2 separate regions of the Homo sapiens genome follow, and region 1 is linked to region 2. The links are contacts of gene promoters, found by promoter capture Hi-C in blood cells and fetal thymus (Javierre and others, 2016). All regions are on one chromosome and are shown on one strand. The core of a region is centred on a gene start or on the middle of the fragment in contact, and the rest is flanking DNA. Distances in the headings are between cores, read along the strand shown.

Region 1 (2,700 bases), core at 79-2,578, 590 kb after region 2:
TTATATCTAAAGTCTAGTGCCATGATCACATTGAGAAAGAAAAAAATACCTTTGAAATAACCAGTTTAAGATGTCCCATGCCGCCAGACCCCCCCACTGTGAAACTCTCCATTGCTTCAAAAAGCTGAAGTTTCTGGTAGAAAAGACATATACTCTTTTCTGGAGAAGTAGCCACTTACATTTTATCCATGAATACAAAACATTTTTTTCATAGTTGATATTGTAGATATTACATAAATTTAATGGGCCCTGAAACTACTGGAAAATCTTTAAGTCATGTTGACTGCTTGGGTGATTTTGGATTCCTTGGCTTGCAAATCTCAGGAACTGTTTTAACAGAGAACAGTAGTGGCTTGTTTTGTGCTAAACCACCCCGACAGCAATTTAGTTGTCATTCAGCTACTAAAGCTTTACTTTATGGCTTTGAAAAACCTGGCTTTCCCTGTTCCATTATCTGCTGAGATAAAATGATATTGGAAGGTTATGACCGATGACAGAATGGCTTCTTTTCCCATCTTTTCTAGCCTCCCCATACGTTGGTCAACACGTGCCTTTTCTCGGCACTGAATGTTTTTAGAATGCTTTGCTTGCCTGCAGGCATTTTATGCTTACGAATTTCGCATCATTTCTTAACCTTCTCTGCATCTGCTTTCAGTCTCCAAAGGAGGCTAGAACGCTGGGTCCTCTGAGTCTACAGCTTCATTGCAGTAAAGAGGATGAGGGTGGGAGGGGGAGAGTACCTCTGGGGGGATTCTAATGCTCACATCCAATCTTGAATTGAGAGCAGTTGCCTGGGAAACAAAACCTCAAAAAATCTCATTTTCACATGCATCTTCAAATCTTCAAATGGCAGGACGTACTTCTGTGTTCAAAGGAAGTCCTCCAAGTCTAAGCGTCCAGCAAGTCGAGATTTATTATCTGCCCAACTCATCTCAGGATTCTATGGATATTTTCTATCACACTGGTAATCAAATAAGAATAACATACATGTGTTAAAAACAGACACAAATAAAAAAGGTTAAACTGGGTTTCTCTGGTTGTGTGAGTTGAGAGGCACCAGGGAATAGCAGAAAGGATTCTGCAATGCAGTCAGAAGACTCATTTTGCAAACATACCTCTAATTGGTAACTTAAATGTAAATTCGCGGTGAGTGCTTGGGCTGTGTGTCACAAATAAGACTCCCAGTCCCTGTTTCTTCATTGGTAAAGAGAAGTTTGGCATGGTCTCGAGATACTCCACTCCCGACCCCACCTCCTAGATCTAATAATTATCTGATCCTTTGGGAGTACCTAAAGGCTGTTGGCATCTTTCTACAAACATTTATTGGATAGTCATGATGTTGCCAATCTAGGGGAACTTCTTTCTATCACCTTAGGTTCTGTAACTGGAGCTTGCAAATCAAACTGATAAAATACAGAGTAACAGGAAAAAACATTTTATTTCAAATGCATGTGGCAGCTTTGCAGAAAAGAAGTGAAATCCCAAAGAAATGGTTAAGTTTGAGAGCTTATATACTATTTTAACAAAGGGTGATACATTGTGAAGAAGTGACAAAAGAAAAGGGGTTTCTAGGTGTGATAAATTGTGGAAAAAATTATATATATATAAAATATATATTATATATAGACAAGGGTTATTTAGTAAGTTTTTTTTTTTAATTCAAACGCAAGTCTCTAGTGATAAGCGTTATGTTGCATGATTAAGAGTCATTCTCCTCTTCCTGGTACAGGAGAGGGAGACGCCTTTACAAATAAAAATGTATTCCCTGTTTTTCAGGCAGAAAGAGGAAGGCCAGAGAATTCTTCCTGTATCTGCTGTTTCTCTAGTGCCTTCAGCTCAAATAATTTTTATGTCAAAGTGGCATATTTAAGGGTGGCATATTCTGATCTTTTTTATTAGCATAGTTCTTTTTTTTTTTCTTTTTCTGGCCCTTTTGTGTTTAGGCTAACTCATTGGTTCATTATTTGATTCATCATGGGCATTAACTACAAAAGAAATTTTGGGGGTAAAACATTAAAGAAAGGTATAATTTTTCAGAGATTATACAAGTTCAAGTGTATTTTTGGGATTTTTTTTCCATCAGAAATACATTCAACAGCAATGTTGATTATGCCACAGAGAATTGTCCTAATGAGTGTGTGTGTCTGCCACCCAAAACCAATGTTTGGAATGGAAATTATGCTTTCCTTCTAAAGGGCAGTATTATATATATATATTTCTTTCTTCAAAAATGTAATCTAGTAACAAGAAAGCTTCATTCTCAGTCTATGGGAGGGAAGTGCAATGAACTGGCTGGTTCCATTGTTACCATGCAACAATTTATTCTGAGCTATATGAACAAAAGACATTCTTCTCAGGGATGGCCTTATTAATCAGTTTATTATTCAATGGGTCAGAATTTGCATTTTGGTGAGTAGTATCGTTTTTATCTCTTCATGTTGCCAAAGTTGTAGTCACATTACAAGAGAGCTCTAAATTAACAGCACAGATATGCAGTTTCTTCAAGAGTAGTTAACTTTATTTCAAATGAATTCTGCTTCCTCTGCCTGGCATTTCTTTACCCGTTATCTCCAAATGTCCAAATTCAACCTATCACTTAAGACCTATTTCAAATGCTGTCTGCCCATCACCTCCTTTGAAGCTTCTCTTCCCTCTTTAAACTGCCATAGGGACAATTTTTTCTATATCGGGACAATTTTT
Region 2 (2,868 bases), core at 172-2,671:
ATATTAGATCTATCATAGGAATTGTATTTTTAGGTCTTCTCAATCCCCATTTACTTTTTGTACTCTTCGTCTGGCAAGGAGTGTGCCAATTATTTCTGTCTATTCACTCACTCCTACAGTGTTTGCTATGAATAATGAGATTATGTGATTTGGTGCAAAGATTTTCCTATTTTTCCTATTTTTTTCTTGATTGTGAATTGTGCTCCTCAAGATTATAAAATGTCCTTCTTAATCTTACTTAATGCTTTTTGCCCTGAAATCAACTTTGTAGTAAGCGGTTTGTGATTCCTGATTTTTTTAATTTTTTTGCATATTCCTGGTATATCTTTTCCAATCTTGTATTTTCAAACTCAGAATAACGTTAGCACTTTCTTGTATACAACACTGAGTTGCATGATGGTTTGTGCTCCTATCTGAGATTGTAGTTTTTTAGTAGGTAAGCTTAGGTCTATATTTCTTCTTGTGAGACATTTGGTCTTGTTCTGTCATATAGTTTGGTTACGCTTTCTGTTTTGTAACTTTTTAAAATATTTCCCTATATATATATTTTTTTTGCTGTGGTTTTGTGTGTGTGTGTGTGTGTGTGCATGCATGTATGTGTGGGTGCATGTATGTGTGGATTATTTGAAAGCTTTGTAGTTTTGTTCTGGGTTACCCTCAGAATCATACCATCCCATGACGTCCTTAATCCTCTATTTCTTTAGATTGTCTTTTGTCTCTCCACTGTATTTCTTTTTTCCCCCTTTTCCCGTTTTCTTAATGACTGGATTTTAATGGATTATAGTAACTTTCTTGGTATACTCCTTCGGACTAAGACGTCTGCTTAAATCTCTACTATTTGATTTATCGGCTTGAACTCTATTTGACACCCAATTAATTACAGATGTAAAAATCATATTTACCCGAAGTCCCACTTTCCCTTTCCCTCCCTGCTTCTGTCAGCGACGTCGTTTTTAAAGACCGAGGCTTTATAGCATTGACATTCTTTTCTGTACCCCTAATCGCGGCATCTGTTTCCATAATCTTACGCTTAACCTCGTGCTCCTTGCCATCCTTTTGCAGCATCTGGCCTATGCAGACTTATTTTCAACTTTTTGCTTATATAGGAGTGGCTTTGAATGAATGAGATCGAGGGGCCTGGAGGGACTTCCCCCACCTCCCCTATCAGAAAGCCCGGCCTCGGACCACTTCTCCTCCTCACCATCTGGGGGCGCTGCCGCGCTCCCCAAGCCTTGTGGAATTTCGAAAATGTGCGCCAGGGCGACACCTCTTGATGGTAAGAAGACGCCGGCGGAGGGGAGCGTGCAGTGCGGTCCTCCCGCGGGCAGGGGGCAGTGCGGCAAGGCGCCCTCGGCGCAGGCGCAGAGGCCGAAGCAGGCGCAGGCGCAGGCGGGGCGCAGGCGCGGGCGCGCTCTCCCGGCAGCCCGCGCTCCCTGACCCCGCGCCGCCGAGCGCCCTGAGGACTCAGCGAAGGGTGGGCGCCGCCGAGGCCTCCTGCCGCTGGCGGGTTTCCGCGGAGTGCCGCCCGGCTCCGCTCTGCCGCCGGCGCGGCTCATGGGCAGAGTCGGCCGGGCGGGCCGGGTAAGTGGCGCCCCGGCGGCCCCGGGTGGGTGGCCTGGCGGGACCTGAGGCGGGCGCGCCTTCCCGGGAGGCGCTAGACGCAAGCCCGCGGCTTTAGGCCCGTCGCGAGGGGCGGAGGCCGGGCCAGCGCAGCCGGAGCCTCCGAGGGTCTCAGTCCCCGCGGCGGGCGCTGGTCTCTCCACGCGGCTGCGGCCCGGTACCCTCCGCCCGCCGCCGCCTCTGGTGACCCTGGCCCTGACCTTCTCCCTCTTCCCTTCCTCCTCCTCCTCCTCATGTCTGCCTCGGGCTGTTTGGTGCTGAAGAGCGTTTCTTCTCCGTCTCGTGCACCGCATCCTGACGAAATTGTCTGGTCACCAGAACCGAGTAGCCCGTAGCGTGTCCCCCCTGGCCCTGCACGGTTGCCCCTCTCTGGGGCTCGGAGCCGGTTCCTCCCGGGGTCTCAGAACTGGGAGTGCAGACGTTGGCGTTTCTCAGACTCCGGAGCTGCCCGGGACAGGAATGCAGCCCTAACCCCGGCGTCGCCTCGGCTCGTGCAGTTTGAGCGGTGTTTCAGCGCTCACGTCCGACCCCAGGCAGTCTTTGAGCTTCGCCTCTTGCCCCGAGAATGTGTAATGATCGGAGAATGCAGGTGGAATGAGGTTCTGCCCCTGCTTGCAGGAGTTTGGTTTCTGGGAAAGCAGGCGTGAAAACCCAGGCCCGGGTTGATTTGAGAAACGCAAGTGGGGTCTGGAAGGACCTCTCTTGAGAGAGGAGGTCATGCTTATGTTGAGTCTTGAAGGTACGTTGTTAGATGTGAGAGGTGGGAAAAAGGCTGCCGGCGGAGGAAGTAAGTGCGAAAGTAGCAGAAGCGAAGCCCCGTAGTGCGTTCTGGAAGCTGCAGGTTAGGCAGAAAGAAAGGTTTGAGGAGGGGCTGCTGTGTTTCCAGGAGTAGTCAGGTCAGAACATGGAGGTTTCTTGAGAAGCAGTAAAGAAGCGCCATTGAGGGTCCTTATTTTGCTAGAGCCAGGCATATGGATGGGAAATAGGATATTCTAGATAAGGGCAAGATTCGCATATACTCAAATAGATGGGTAGATGTGCACTGGCTCCCCGCAGCAGATGGAGTTTTTAAAAGGATGCAACACAAGTTTCCACATTTTTAGTTGTAAAGGCTGCAGACATTTTGATCGTAATGACAGCTTTTAGGGAATATGGGGTAACAGTTTAGTGAGCTAAACGAGAGGGCTTTATTTTTAGAGTTAGTTAAGCAAGGTGCTGCGTGCTGTCCAGTTTATAACAGAGCAGGTT

The links. Contacts are between HindIII fragments. The CHiCAGO score rates a contact against its expected background, and 5 or more counts as called.
Region 1: a fragment that was not itself captured here is called in contact with the fragment with the promoter of RBM17 in region 2 in 3 of 17 cell types (non-activated CD4 T cells, naive CD4 T cells and fetal thymus); the score reaches 7.4 in non-activated CD4 T cells.

What each region holds. Positions count from the first base shown.
Region 1 is chr10:6,680,167-6,682,866 of GRCh38, forward strand. No RefSeq gene overlaps it. Among named protein-coding and RNA genes, the nearest start is that of LINP1, 56 kb to the right of the region's middle. The HindIII fragment of the contact is 1,844 bases long and covers 407-2,250 here.
Region 2 is chr10:6,087,613-6,090,480 of GRCh38, forward strand. It overlaps RBM17 (RNA binding motif protein 17), which reads left to right and starts at 1,422. Exons shown (of 12, transcript NM_032905.5): 1 at 1,422-1,581. RefSeq lists enhancers at 1,074-1,123, 2,080-2,868 and silencers at 1,284-1,723, 1,734-1,823, 2,094-2,153. The HindIII fragment of the contact is 5,297 bases long and covers 630-2,868 here.